Regions from separate parts of the Homo sapiens genome. Here region 2 is linked to region 1. Evidence: promoter capture Hi-C in 16 types of primary human blood cells and fetal thymus (Javierre and others, 2016). All regions are on one chromosome and are shown on one strand. The core of a region is centred on a gene start or on the middle of the fragment in contact, and the rest is flanking DNA. Distances in the headings are between cores, read along the strand shown. Region 1 holds the start of AVPR2 (arginine vasopressin receptor 2). Region 2 overlaps PLXNB3-AS1 (PLXNB3 antisense RNA 1).

The links. Contacts are between HindIII fragments. The CHiCAGO score rates a contact against its expected background, and 5 or more counts as called.
Region 2: a fragment that was not itself captured here is called in contact with the fragment with the promoter of AVPR2 in region 1 in 10 of 17 cell types (total CD8 T cells, M1 macrophages, M0 macrophages and 7 more); the score reaches 7.8 in total CD8 T cells.

What each region holds. Positions count from the first base shown.
Region 1 is chrX:153,898,109-153,905,922 of GRCh38, reverse strand. It overlaps AVPR2 (arginine vasopressin receptor 2), which reads right to left and starts at 1,250. Exons shown (of 4, transcript NM_000054.7): 1 at 1,152-1,250; 2 at 753-949; 3 at 1-391. The coding sequence starts at 777. The HindIII fragment of the contact is 5,945 bases long and covers 1-5,244 here.
Region 2 is chrX:153,754,520-153,762,333 of GRCh38, reverse strand. The region is part of intron 2 of PLXNB3-AS1 (PLXNB3 antisense RNA 1); the gene reads left to right. Among named protein-coding and RNA genes, the nearest start is that of PLXNB3, 5.8 kb to the left of the region's middle. The HindIII fragment of the contact is 6,541 bases long and covers 1-5,582 here.

The sequences.
Region 1 (7,814 bases), core at 1-2,500:
CGGTGGCGGTCCAGCGTCATGGCCAGGATCATGTAGGAGGAGGCATACATGCCCACCATCTGCAGATACTTCACGGCCCGACACAGGGCATCTGGCCCACGGAAGCGGTCGGTGGCCTTCCAGGCCAGCTGGGGCAGCACTTGGAACAGAGCCACGGCCAGGTCGGCCAGGCACAAGTGGCCAATGAAGACGTGTATGGGTGCCCAGTGGCCCCGCCGGCCCCGCCGAGCTAGGGCCGCCAGCACCAGGCCATTGCTCAGGGCCACAGCCACAAAGACTATGGAGAGCAGCGCCAGCTCCGCCCGGGCTAGCAGCGGGTCCCGGGTGTCCAGTGGCCTCTCCTGGCTGCTGTTGCTGGGCAGGCTGGGCAGAGAGGGATGCCCAGGCACAGCTGGGAAGGAGTCGGGAAGAGGGCCTGGTTAGAGAGGGTGCTGTGCAGGGGGACTCAGGCCTGCCTCCCGTGCCCCCATCCGGACACCCACTTCCTGGCTCCTAGCAGAGGGGACTCCAGGAAAGCCATGTTATGAGGGATACACACCCCAGGCTCATGCAGTCCAGAAGGAAGGGCAGCCCCAGCCCCAGCCCCAGCCCCAGCCCTGGCGGGGAAGTGGGGCTGTGCTCCCCTCCCCACTCATTGGCAGCCTGGAGAGACACACCCAGAGGTGAGGGTGAAGGAGGTCTTTAGAAAGAGGGGCTTCCCTGAATCGTCAAACCCACTCTGCCCACCGGACTCATGGAGGGGCAAGCCTTACCGGAAGTGGTGGACGCCATGAGCATGGTGGGGCTGGGGCAGGTGTTCTGAGGGCCTGGAGGTGATGTGCGGACTCAGCCTCTGCCTGAGGAGCAAGTTCAATGGCCCAGGGTCTCTGGACTGGAGCCCTTATAGAGATGCCAGCATGGCAGATGCCTGTTGGCGTGTGTGCACGTGTCGGTGGCAGTATGGCCAGTCCTGGGCAGGGAAGATTGAGAGGGATGGTCAGACAGACGGATGCACAGAACCCAGGATCCCCCAGGCAGCCCATGAGTCCCGGGTTTGGGAGTGGGCACCCCAGACAGACACGCAGAACTCCCCTGCCCCAACCGAGGCCGAGAGAGGCCACCATCCGAGGGCTGGGGACTGGGCAGGGGGGCAGGCAGGCGCAGCCCCTTACCTGGCTGGGCTCCTGGGCAGCTGGGCGGTGGCGTGAAGGTGGCTGGGTGCTCAGATCTGCTCTCCATCGGCTGCCCTGCCCTGGCCCAGCCCAGCCTCTGGGAGTGACCTGGCCAGGAGGGGACTTCCTCCCCCTCCCCCTTTCCCCCAGGCCTCCCCTGGCCTCCTGTTTCCCTTCCTTTCCCCAGGGCCTCCCTGGTCCCGGCCCAGGACTCCCTCCTCCCACTGCCATAGCCTCCACGCCCACCCTCACCCTACCACGCCCCCCTGGTTGGATTGTCTGGGTTGGCAGTGCTCTGGGAGGTCACTTAGTTCAGCATTCCCATTTTATAAGTGGGGAAACTGAGGCCAGAGAGCGGTGGGTCTGGCCCAGGACTGCGCTGCTTTTTCATGGGAGCTTCACGCCCCCTTCCCAAGTTGGGGTCCTCCTGCTCCTCGCTGGGCCCAGGCAAGGAAGGGGTGAAAACACTTTCGCTGGGCCCCTCCCAGGCCCACGCAGGCCCCTCCTCCTCCCCAGTTAGGGCCCAGTTGGCCGGAGACGAGGGACAGGAAAGGGAGGAGTGGGGCAGGGGCCAAGCCAGGCTTCACGAACCCCTGTGAGATCCAGGGACACCCCCACCCTCTTCCTCCTGCCCCACCTGCAACTACCTGTCCTAGGAAGAGGGGCTGGGGACCTCCGTGTGCTCACGGGCTCCCTCCCACCACACACAACCTCACATGATACAGCCACACAGCCACAAACACACAACACAGAGACGCTCGCTCATGTTCTTGAACATACCATGAGTATGGACGCACCTTCCCTGTACCTGAGCCCTCCTCCTCCCTCCCCCAACACCTCTCTCCTTCCCCTGTCCCCACACCCCCTCCAGCCCCCATCCCAGTAGTTCTCTTTCCACTCCCCCCGCACCCAGGCCTGGCTTGGCTCAGCCGAGGCCAGCCCAGCCCAGCCCAGCCCAAGGCAGCTGCTTTCTTCCTGTTTGTCTGTCTTCTCTGTTGCCTGTGAAGCCAGAGACCAAAACAGCCTCACGGACCAGGCCCAAGTCCGGCCCGCGGCCAAGGCCTCCTCTTCCTGCCCAGAGAGCCTGGCAGCACCCTGGCCCCTCCCGGCCCTGTTAGGGTGGTGGGAACACAGGGTGGGCATTTTCCAGAGACAGCGCACACACCACACCACATACATACATGCACACAGCCACACGCCACACACACATGCACCCACCACACACCCATACGCCACACCACACACACACCACACCATGCACACATATATTACACACCACACACATGCACACATCACACACTCCCATACGCCACACACCCACACATGTACCCACCACACAGCCATACACACCACATACGCACAGCCAACACCACACACGCACACACCCGCAGCACACACAGGTGCACATCACACCCCGCATCTTTGCCATGTTTTTGCAGAGCCCCTTGGGGGCAGGCTGCAGAGTGCTGGCACCCCAGGCCTGACGCTTCAGCTGCATCTCCTCAGCGCATGCACATCCTCATGCTGTCCCCAATAACCGCATGCTGTCACTAATCTAGGAGCATAGAAAAGGCCTTCCTAATGCCACCCAGATCAGTGGAATAGGAGATGGCTTCCCTCAACTGGCAGAGAATTTGGGGACCCTGGCTGGGGAATAGGAAAGCAAGGCTCCAGCCCCTGCTTGGCCCCTGCCCAGTAGTGTGACCTTGAACAGGCCACGCCAGCTCTTGGCACCTCAGCTTCCCCTTCTGTGCAATGGGACTTGATGATTGAGGGAGACTACGGTGGTAAGATGGGCAGGGGTGGGGACTGGCAGGGCCTTGGGAAAGCCTTTGTTCCCTCCGTCTAAAGCCGGCTAGGGCGAGGAATCCATGCTAACCTTTTGGGGTGAGCAGACAACCATCTCCTTATCAGTTTCTCTGCCTGAACGAGGCTGTGCAGTGCCGGATCTCAGCAGCAGGTTGGGACCTCCCCTAGCAATGTGGCCAGGCCCGTGGCAATCTCTGCCCCCCTGGACTCCTCGCTTCCTGTTGTTAAACTAGGGAAGAATCTGGAGGAAGGGCCCGCATGGCGGTCTCCTCTGGGATGCAAGAAGCCAGATCAGGATCCAGTGCCATTCTGCTCAGCCAGGACCCCGGGGAGGAACTGGGAGCCACATGGGCAGGCACTACATGGAACTGTGCCAGGAGAGAGGCCCTGGGCAGCCACCCCTCGGGGGCCAAGAAAGATGGGGCTGGGCAGCAGCTCCCATGGGAAGAAGGGCAGACTGTGCTGATTCACGCTAGGCCCACATGAGTCACTCAAGCCCCTGCCCTTGGGCGTTAACGGGCAGGGCATCTACCTGGGGGTGTGCCAGGCCCCCACTCCTGCCAGCGCAGCCCCTGTGTGCACACCTCCCACTGGTCCCTCTAAGACTTGCAGAAAGGGCTCTGTGAGTGCCAAGGTGTGGCTCCTGATCTTCCAGCCTAGTGTCTGGGCAGAAGAGGACAGGAGGCAGATTGGGGGGACACTGTTTGTCCCTCTCTATCTACCGGTTCCCCATGATCAGAACCTTCCATTCACCAAACTGCAAGTGCCGCTGGCCTAGCACTGTGGCTGCAGAGATGGAAGGACCTGGGCTCTGCCCCAGGAGCACATGGGCTTCTGCAGAGAAGAGTGGAGGCAGGGAGGCTGGTGGAAGCTGTGCCTGTCACCCAGGAGAGAAATGGTGCGACCCACTTAACACTGGGCAGCGGGGCTAGAGGGAGCAGGCAGGTGGAAAAGGCATTTAAAGGGCCCTGAAGGATTTGTAAGGGGTGGAAGACAAAGAGGAGGCAGCCAAGGACGAGGAGAAAGAGGCCCCCGATTGTGTGGGAGGGGTGCATGTGCAGATGGTGGAGCCTGTGGGCAGTGGGAAGGACGGAGCCAAGTGCCTGTCAACAGGAACGGCCCTCACAGGGACTGTGACCCGAAGGAGAATACCTAGAGCCCAGGAGATAGGGAGGAACAACGGGTTGGAGGATGGGATTGAAGGGGACAAAAACAAATTTAATAAAAACTCAAGTGTACTTGTGTGAATGTGAGGGTGTGTGTGAGGGTGTGCGTGTGTGAGGGTGTGAGAGTGTGTGAGGGTGTGTGTGAGAGTGTGCGTATGTGAGGGTGGGCGTGTGTGTGGGGTGTGTGTGGTGTGTGGTGTGTGAGGGTGTGCATGTGAGGGTGTGTGGTGTGTGTGTGGCGTGGGTGGTTGTGTGTGAGGGTGTGTGGTGTGTGTGTGTGTGGCGTTGGGGGGGTTGTGTGTGAGGGTGTGCGCGTGTGTGAGGGTGTGTGCGTGTGTGAGGGTGTGTGCGTGTGTGAGGGTGTGTGCGTGTGCCAATGATGACAGGAAGACAGCCTGCGGATGATCATCTAATTGTGTCCATTCACCTAAGTGAATAATAACTGGGAAAGCTGGACAGAGCCTGTTTATAGCTGCGGAAAGGCAGCCCATGGAACTGGATAGATTAAGAGCCTCGCGGAGTGGAAGGGAGGGCCAGGGTCTCCAGCAGGTGCTGGGGTGAGGGGCGGGGGGTAGAAGGAGGGTGAGCGTTGAGGGCTTGAGGGCCGTACCCATAGATGGCCTCCAGGTCATCATGTGAGAGTCAGGCAGGAGGCGGCTCCCTGGCAAAACTGCAGAGATTTTTTTTTTTTTTCTTTTTTAAAGGCAGTGGCCCCTCCCGCTTTCCTCCCCAGAGGCGGCCGACTGCAGTTGCTGTTAGTGGGCTGTTTGGGTAACTGCCTCGGGGTTTCCCAGTCTGACTTCCTCTTGCTCTCTCTGCCTGCACGTTCCTCCCCCAGATTATTGCAGCAGCTGCTCCGGGTGTCTTCAGTGCTCATGCACTCACCACCCTGGAATGGCCCTCCGCAGGCAATGATTTCTCTCCTCCAGAATGACTTTTTTTTTTTTCGGCTTTATTGAGGTATGATTAGCATACAGTAAAATTCATTAATTGTAATTGTACTGTTCAGTAAGATTTGACAAATGTATACAGTCGTGTAACCACAACCACAATCATGACATAGAATAAATATTTTCGACATTCCAGAAAGTTCCCTCGTGGCCTTTTGCAGTCAAGCTTCTTCCCCTACCTGAAAGCCTAGCAACCACTGATCTATCACTATAGATTTTCCTTTTCTAGAATTTTATATAAATAGAATCATAGAGTATGTAGTATTTTCAAAAATTAGCCGGGCGTGGTGGCGCAAGCCTGTAATCCCAGCTACTCAGAGGCTGAGGCTGGAGAATCGCTTGAACCCGGGAGGCGGAGGTTTCAGTGAGCCGAGATCTTGCCATTGCACTCCAGCCTGGGTGACACAGCAAGACTCCGTCTCAAAAAAAAATAATAATAAAAATAAATAAATAAATAAAAGAGTACATAGTATTTTGTGTAACTTCTTTTTTTTTTTTATATTTTTTTTGGTGGGGAGGAGGCATAGTCTCTCACTCTGTCACCCGGTATACTGAAAGCTTTTATCACAAGTGAGTATTGAATTTTTTTCTTTTTTTTCTTTTTTTTTTTGAGTCGGAGTTTCACTCTTGTTGCCCAGGCTGCAGTGCAATGGCGAGATCTTGGCTCACTGCAACCTTCGCCTCCCAGGTTCAAGAGATTCTCTTGCCTCAGCCTCCCAAGTAGCTGGGATTACAGGCAAGCGCCACCATGCCCAGCTAATTTTGTACTTTTAGTAGAGACGGGGTTTCTTCATGTTGGTCAGGCTGGTCTCGAATTCCCGACCTCAGGTGATCCACCTGCCTCGGCCTCCCAAAGTGCTGGGATTACAGGCATGAGCCACCACACCCGGCCAATTTTTGTGTTTTTAGTAGAGACAGGGTTTCATCATGTTAACCAGGATGGTCTCGATCTCTTGACCTCTGATCCACCCACCTTGGCCTCCCAAAGTGCTGGGATGACAGGTGTGAGCCACTGTGCCTGGCTGTTGTTTACCATTTTTACATCTGTATTAATGAGAGATGCTGGTCTACGTTTTCCCTTTCTGTAATATCTTTGGTTTGGGGATGAGTATAATGCTGACTTTATAAAACGAGTTGGGAAGTGTTCTCTCTTTTTCTGTTTTCTGGAAGAGTTAGTATAGAATTGGTATTATTTACACAAACCTGGAGTTTTCTTTGTGAGAATTTTTTCAGTTATAAATTCAACTCTTCTGACAGATACAGGGCTAATCAGGTTATCTATTTTTTCCTAAATGAGCGTTGACCATTTGTATCTTTCAAGGAATTTGTCCATTTCATCTAAGTTGTTGGATGTATTGGAATAAGTTTTTCACAACATCCTCTTATCACTTTTTTATGTTTGTAGGATCTGTAATAATGCCCCCTCTCTCTTATTCTCCATATTGGTAATTTGTATCTTCTCTCCATTTTTTTTTTCTGATCAGTCTGGCTAGAGGCTTATCAATTTCATTGATCTTTTTGTTTTGTTTTGTTTTGAAACGAAGTTTTGCTCTTGTTGCCCAGGCTGGAGTGCAGTGGTGTGATCTTGGCTCACTGCAACTTCTGCCTCCCAGATTCAAGCAATTCTTCTGCCTCAGCCTCCTGAGTAGCTGGGATTACAGGTGCACACCACCACGCCCAGCTAATTTTTGTATTTTTTAGTAGAGATGGGGTTTCACCATGTTGGTCAGGATCATCTCGATCTCTTGACCTCATGATCTGCCTGCCTCGGCCTCCCAAAGTGCTGGGATTACAGGTGTGAGCCACCGTGACCGGCTCTAGTTTCTTAAAGTAGAAATTTAAATAATTATTTTGGGACCTTTCTGCTTTTCTAATATAAGTAGTTCCTTTTCCTCTAATCAGTTGTTTTGTTGAATTCCCAAATTTTCATATTTTATTTGCATTTCTATTCAGTGAAAGATATGTTCTACCAATAATTTTACTTGTGGTTTCTTCTTTGGTTCTTGGGTTATTTGGAAGTAGATATTTTTTCATTTCAAAATATTTAGAAAATTCCTAGATGTCTTTTTGTTGTTGATTTCTAATTCAACATCATTTTGGTCAGAAATCGTACTTTGTATGATTTTGACCCTTTGTAATTTATTGAGGCTTGCTCGATTGCCCAGAAGTTGTCTGTGTTGGTTGGGGTTCCATCTGCACTTGAGAAGAATATGTGTTCTGCTGTTGTTGGATGTAGTGTTCCGTACATATCAATTGAGTCAATTAGGTTGATAGTGTTGTTCAAATCTATATTCTTCTGATTTTTTTCCTATTTGTTTTATCATTTACTGAGAAAGGAATGTTAAAGTTGGCCAGTATGTTTGGAGATTTATCTGTATCTAGAACCCTTTAGTCCTATAAATTTTGTTTCATATATTTGGTAGATTAGGTGCTTATATATTTGAAATGGTTGTGTTTTCTTGATTATGTGTTCTTTTTTCATTATGACATGTCTCTCTTGATCTCTAGTAAACTCTTTGTCTTGAATTCTGCTCTACCTGATATTAGTATGATGCCATGGCAGCTTTCTTATGCTCAGTGGTTGCTTGGTATATCTTTTTCCATACTTCTACTCTCAACATGTCTGTGTCTTTATGCTTCAAATGTGCTTCTTGTAAATAACATATAGCTATTTTATCTAGCCCAACAGTCTCTGCCTTTTAACTGGTGTGTGTGGCAGATTGTGTTTTTCAAAGGTA
Region 2 (7,814 bases), core at 1,063-3,562, 140 kb after region 1:
TGTGTGTATATGGCCTGCATATGCACCTTCTACGCTTTCTGAGCAGATAAGAGGCGTGGCTATGGCAGCCCCTGGTCTGAAGCTGGTGTAACCAGAAAGGATCTAGGCTGGTTTGGGGAACCGGAACATCTTATGTCAGGGGAGTCGTGCTGGATTTATCCTGCAATGGCCGGGTCCCCTCACCAAGGGATGGGAAGGCAGCGTCAACTGATCTGGTGTCGTCTCCTTGCTGTGTGCCAGGCTTCTCAATGCTGGAAGGGGACTCGTTGGGTCAGTGGGACGTGGGCTTCACGTTTGCTGGGCTGAAGACGTAGCTCTCCATGCTGGCATCCCAGCGGACACCCCCACTGCCACTGCTGCACCACGTCTTCACGTACACCAGAGAGCAGACTTGAGAGTTTCTGCGCATACAGTGGGTGTGAAATGGTGCCCTGCTGGGTTTTGAATCGGCATTCCTTGACCACCGGCCATATTGCAGCACTTTTCATTTCTTCTGTCAAATGCCCGTGCATGTCTTGGCTTACACTTTGCAGGTGTTCTGTATTTTCCACACCAATCCCTGGGGTGTATGTCTTCGGCCTACCTGTTACTTGTCTTCTCAGTTTGCTGATGTATCATGTGATAAACAGAAAGTCTTAATTTTAATATCATAGCATTTATCAATCTGATTTCTTTTTTTGAGACGGGGTCTCGCTCTGTCGTGCAGGCTGGGGTGCATTGGCGCAATCATGGCTCACTGAAGCCTCCTGGGCTCAAGTGATCCTCCCACCTTAGCCTCCCAAACACCTGGGACTACAGGCAGGCGCCACAGTGCCTGGCTAATTTTGTAATTTTTTTGTAGAGACAGGGTCTCGCTATGTTGCCCAGGCTGGTCTCAAACTCCTGGACTCAAGCGGCCCTCCCGCCTTGGCTTCCCAAAGTGCTGGCCCGTGAGCCTGTGAGCCACTGCGCCTGGCTACCTTCTTTTGAATTCCCATTCAGACTGTGTGTTGCTGGTACATAGAAAAACAATGGATTTCTATGTATCAAGTAACCTTGTAAACTCTCATATTAAGTCTAATAATTATGTTTGGGTTCTCTTTGTGGATTCTTTTTGATTTTCTGCGTACACAATCCTATCATCTGCAAGTAATGACCATTTTGTTTCTTCTATTCCAGTCTTTTTAGCTTTGATTTCTTTTTTTGAGGCAGAGTCTGGCTCTGTCACCCAGGCTGGAGTATAGTGGCACAATCTTGGCTCACTGCAACCTCCGCCTCCCTGGTTCAAGCAGTTCTCCTGCCTCAGCCTCCCAAGAAGCTGGGACTACAGGCACCCACCACCACGCCTGACTAATTTTTGTATCTTTACCAGACACAGGGTTTCACCATGTTGGCCAGGCTGATCTGGAACTCCTGATCCACCTGCCTTGGCCTCCCAAAGTGCTAGGATTACAGGCGTGAGCCACTGTGCCCGGCTGATTTCGTTTCCTTGCTTTACTTCCCTGGACTTGCTTTCTCTTGCTTTTACTTCCTTTGAATGAAAGCATAGGAGGCGCTGGGCATGGTGGCTCACGCCTGTAATCCCAGCACTTTGGGAGGCCGAGGTGGGTGGATCACCTGAGGTCAGGAGTTCGAGACCAGCCTGACCAACATGGAGAAACTCTGTCTCTACTAAAAATACAAAAAAATTAGCCGAGCATGGTGGCCCATGCTTGTAATCCCAGCTACTTGGGAGGCTGAGGCAGGAGACTCGCTTGAACCCAGGAGGCCGAGGTTGCGGTGAGCCAAGATCGAGCCATTGCACTCCAGCCTGGGCAACAAAAGCGAAACTCTGTCTCAAAAAAAAAAAAAAAAAAAAAAAAAAAGCATAGGAGGCATTCTCAGTGTTCCATTATTAAGTATGATGTTTGCAGGGAGCATTCGGTAGATATGTTTATCAGATTTAGAAAGCTCCCTCCCATTCCTAGTGTGCTATATGTTGAATTTTTATAAAATGCTTTTTCTGAATGCATTAATATGATCACAGGGTTTTCCTCCTCTAATCTGTTAATGTGGCAAATTACATTAATTCATTTTTAAATGTTAAACCACTCTTGTATTTTCTGGACTAAACTCAACTTTGCGTGATGTATTTTTTTCATATACAATTCTGGATTGGGTGGTTTTTTTTTTTTTTTTTAGCCTCGTATTATTATCCTCGTCTGGTTTTGGTATCAAGACATCGTAAAGTGAGTTGAGGCAGTATTTCCTTTTTCAGCTGTTCACTGGAACAGTTAGTCTAAGATGGAGATGATCAGTTACTTCCATGTTTGCTGGAGATCATCTGTAAAACCATCTAGGCCTTCCTTGTTTTTTATTTTCTGTTTTTTGTTTTGTTTCTTTTCTTTTCTCTTCTTTGTTTTTTTTGTTTTGTTTTGTTTTGTTTTGTTGTTGTTTTGAGACAGAGTCTCACTCTGTTGCCCAGGCTGGAGTGCAGTGGTACAGTCTTGGCTTACTGCAACCTCTGCCTCCTGGGTGCAAGCGATTCTCCTGCCTCAGCCTCCCGAGTAGCTGGGACTGCAGGCATGCACCACCACGTCCAGCTAAGTTTTGTATTTTTAGTAGAGACGGTGTTTCGCCATGTTGGCCAGTCTGGTCTTGAACTCCTGACCTCAGGTGATCTGCCTGCCTCGGCCTCACAAAGTGCTGGGATTACAGGCATGAGCCACCGCATCTGGCCTGGCCTTCCTTGTTTTTGTAGCTTCCTGCCTGTCCCCCTATAGATTTTAAACAATGAATCCAACTTCTGTAATAATTATGGGACCATTTAGGTTTTCTGTTTCTTCTTGAGTAATTTTTTTATTGTGGGAAAAAATACATAACACAAAATTTGCCATCTTTTTTTTTTTTTTTTTTGAGACAGGTCTTGCTCTGTTGCCCAGGCTGGGGTGCAGTGGCATAATCATTGTAACCTCAAACTCCTGGTCTCAAGCAATTCTCCTGCCTCAGCCTCCTGGGTAGCTGGGACTATAGGCATTCACCACCATGCCCAGCTAATTTTTAATTTAATTTTTTTTTTTGAGACAGATCTCACTTTGTCACCCAGGCTGGAGTACAGTGGCGTGATCTCAGCTCACTGCAACCTCTGCCTCCCGGGTTCAAGCAATTTTTGTGCTTCAGCCTCAAATTTTTAATGTTTTTGGTAGAGATGGGATCTTGTTACTTTGCCCAGGCTGGTCTCCCATTCCCAGACTCAATCAATCCTCCTACCTTGGCTTCCCAAAGCACTGGGATTACAGGTGTGAGCCACCATGCCCAGCCTCCAACTTTATTCTTTTGCATGTGGATATCAAGTTTCCCCTATACCATTTGTTGAAAAGACTGCCCTTTTCCCAATTTGTAGCCTTGATACCCTTGTCAAAAATCATCTGACCATATACTTGAGAGTTTCTTTCTGGGCTCTGGATTATATTCTGTCTCTGTCTTTATGCCAGGACCACACTGTAATATGTTTTATTTTGTAAATCAGGAAGTGTGAGTCCTCGAACTTTGTTCTCCTTTTTCAGAATTGTTTTGGTTATTTGGAGCCCCTTGAGATTCTATCTGAATTTAGGATGAATCATTCTATTTTGAGTCAATTTTTGATAAACAATATTTTTCTAGGAACATGCTTTTTTTTTTTTTTTTTTAGACAGAATCTAGCTCTGTCGCCCGGGCTGGAGTGCAGTGGCATGATCTTGGCTCACTGCAACCTTTGCCTCCTGGGTTCAAGCAATCCTCCTGCCTCAGCCTCTCGAGTAGCTGGGATTACAGGTGCCCGCTACCACGCCCAGCTGATTTTTGTATTTTTAGCAGAGACGGAGTTTCACTGTGTTGGCCAGGCTGGTCTTGAACTCCTGACCTCAGGTGATCCACCTGCGTCGGTCTCCCAAAGTGCTGGGATTACAAGCGTGAGCCACCGCGCCTGGCTGGAACATGCCCATTTTGTTTAAGTTTTCAAGTTTATTAGCATAAAGTGTTTTGGTTTTATTTTATCATTGATTTATTATTAATAAATGTCTTGGGTCAAAACCAGATGACGTTGCTTAATGTTCATTTATTGTTAACCTACAAAAATTGCAGTTTCATCTTGTTCAATCTAATACACACGGAAGAGCATATGCTGCTTAGATGAATCATCCCCACTGACAGCCATCATGGACCCTTCTTTTTCCCTTCGCAGTTAGTCCTAGCCTTTCCTTGGTTTTCTTTATACTTGTCCCAAATATGAATTAGCCTTAAACAATAAATTATTTACTTTTGCAACAAATTTTTTGGTTTTATTTTTTTAAATGTGTTAACTAGAATCACCATGCTGTACATCAGATCTCTGGAACGTCTCCATCCTGCATAACTGAAACTTGGTACCCTTTGACCAGCATTTTCCCATTTCCCCTACCCCAGTCCTGGCGGCCACTGTTCTGCTCTGTTTCCATGAGGCTGACATTTTTACTTTCCACGTGAGCAGCGTCATGCAGTATTTGCCTTTCTGTGCCCGGCTTACTTCACTTAATGTAATGTCCTCCAGGTTCCTCCATGTTGCAAATGGCAGGATTGCCTTCTTTTTAAAGGCTGAGTAGTGATCCATTGTGTATCTGTACCACATTTTCTTTATCCATTCATCTGTTGGTGGGCATTTCGTTTGATTCCATATCTTGGCGATTGTGAGTAGTGCTTCAATGGACATGCGAGTGTGGATATTGCCTCGACATACCGATTTCATTTCCTTTAGATACATACCCAGAAATGGGATTGCTGGATTGTATGGTCATTCTCACTTTAAATATTTTGAGGAACCACCATGCATACCATTTTCCATACTGTTCCAAAATGTTCCCTTTTCTCCACACCCTCGCCAAAGTTTGTTTTCTTTTGTCTTTTTGAAAACGATCATTCTAATTTGAGTGAGGTGGTGTCTCATTGTGGTTTTGAGTTGCATTTCCCTGATGATTGGTGATGTCGAGCATTTTTTTCTTTTTTTAAGATGGAGTTTTGTTCTTTCGCCCAGGCTGGAGTGAAGTGGCGCGATCTTGGCTTACTGCAACCTCTGCCCCCCGGATTCAAGTGATTCTCCTGCCTCAGCCTCTGGAGTAGCTGGGATTACAGGCGTATGCCACCACACCTGGCTAAGTTTTGTATTTTTAGTAGAGACAGGGTTTCACCATGTTGGCCAGGCAGGTCCTGAACTCTTGACCTCAGGTGATCCACTCACCTCGGCTTCCCAAAGTGCTAGGATTACAGGCGTGAGCACTGCACCCGGCTGATGTTGAGCATTTTTTTTTAATAGACCTATTGGCCGTTTGTATGTCTTCTTTTGAGAAATGCCTGTTCAGGTCCTTGCCCATTTAAATTGGGTTATTTATTTTTTCAATTTTCAATTTTTAATTTTTAGGAGTACATAGTAGGTGTAACTGGGTTATTTTAACTGGGTTAGAAAATACATTTGCTTGCTATTGAGTTGTATGAGTTCCTTGTGTGTTCTGTGTATTAACCTTGTATCAGATGGATGGTTTACAACTATGTTCTTCCATTCCATAGGCTGTCTCCTTCACTCTGTTGATTGCTTCCTCTGCTGTGCAGAAGCTTTTTAGTTTGATGCAAACTCATTTGTCTGTTTTTGTTTTGTTGCCTGTGCTTTTGGTGTCATATTGAAAAACTTATTGCCCAGACCAGTGCCAAGCAGCTTTTCACGTAAGTTTCTTCTAGTAGTTTTCTAATTTCAGGTCTCACATTTGAATCTTCAGTCCGTTTTGAGTTGATCTTTGTGCATTGTGTGAGATAAGGGTCTAATTTCATTCTACTGCAAGTGAATATCCAATTTTCCCAACACCATTTATTGACAAGACTGTCTTTTGTCTATCATGTATTATTGGCACCTTTGTCGAAGATCAATCAACTGTAAATGCATAGATTTATTTCTGGGTTCACTATTCTGTTACGTTGGTGTATGTGTCTGTTTTTATGCCAGAACCATGCTGTTTTGGTTACTATAGCTTTGTAACATATTTTGAGATCAGATAGCATGAGTCTTCCAGTTTTGTTCTTTTTGTTCAAGATTGCTTTGGCTATTTGGGGTCTTTTGTGGTTTAACATACATTTTAGAATTGCTTTCTCTATTTCTGTGAAAAATCTCATGGGAATATTGATAGGGATTACATTGAATGTGTAGATCACTTTGGGTAGTATAGACATTTTAACAATATTAACTATCCCAATCCATGAACACAGGGTATCTTTCCATTTATTTGTGTTTTCTTCAGTTTCTTTCATCTGTGGTTTACAGTTTTCGGTGTATAGGTCTTTCACCTCCTTGGTTAAACTTATTCCTAAGTATTTTATTTTTTATAGCTATTATAAATGAGATTGTTGGCTTGATTTCCTTTTTGGATAACAAAATAAATCTTCTTTGATGATTTCTTTTTTAGAAAGTGCATTGGCTGGGCGCAGTGGCTCACGCTTGTAATCCCAGCACTTTGGGAGGCCGAGGTGGGCGGATCACAAGGTCAGGAATCGAGACCACGGTGAAACCCTGTCTCTACTAAAAATACAAAAAATTAGCTGGGCATGGTGGCGGGCGCCTGTAGTCCCAGCTACTCGGAGAGGCTGAGACAGGAGAATGGCGTGAACCCGGGAGGCGGAGCTTGCAGTGAGCCGAGATAGTGCCACTGCACTCCAGCCTGGGCAACAGAGACTCTGTCTCAAAAAAAAAAAAAAAAAAAAGAAAGTGCATTGTTAGCATATAGCATATAGAAATGCTACTAGGTGAGGCATGATGGCTCACACCTGTAATTCCAGCACTTTGAGAGGCCAAGGCAGGAGGATCACTTGAGCCCAGAAATTCAAGACCAGCCCAGGCAACTAAACAAGACCCTGTCTCAATAATAGCAATAATATTAATACTAATTAGTCAGGCATGATGGTGCACATTTGTAGTCTCAGCTACTCAGGAAGCTGAGGTGGGAGAAGCCCAGGAGGTCAAGGCTGCAGTGAACTGTGATTGAGCCACTGTACTCCAGGTGGGGTGATAGAGCAAGATTCTGTCTCAAAAAAAAAAAAATAAAATAAAAAATAAAAGCTATTGTTTTGTATGCTGATTTTGTATCCTGTACCTTGACTGAATTCTAACAATTTTTCGGTGGAGTCTTTAGGGTTTTCTGCATACAGGATTGTGTGATCTGCAAACAGAGACAATTTAATCTCTCTCTCTCTCTTTTTTTTTTTTTTTTTTTTACGAAGTGTCACTCTGTTGTCCAGGCTGGAGTGCAGTAGTGTGATCTCGGCTCACTGCAACCTCAGCCTCTCAAGTTCAAGTGATTCTCCTGCCTCAGCCTCCCAAGTAGCTGGGATTACAGGCATGCACCACCACACCTGGCTAATTACTGTCTTTTTAGTAGAGATGGGGTTTCACCATGTTAGCCAGGCTGGTCTCGAACTCCTGACCTCAGGTGATCTGCCTACCTCGGCCTCCGAAAGTGCTGGGATTATATGTGTGAGCCACCGAGCCTGGCCTAATTTGGGTTTTTAAATGTTTTTTTTTTTCTTTTCTCATTGCTGTGGCTAGGCCTTCCAGGACTATGCTGAGTAGAAGTGGTGAGAGTGGGCATCCTTGTCTTGCTCCTGATCTTAAAGGAAGAGCTTTCAGCTTTTCACCATTCAGTATGATGTTAGCTGTGGGCTTGTCATATATGGCCTTTATGATGTTGAGGTATATTCCTTCTATACCTAATTTGTTGAGAGTTTCTTTTTAATTTTGTTTTTTTGGTAGAGACAGGGCCTATGTTGCCCAGGCTGGTCTTAAACTCCTGGGCCCAAGTGAT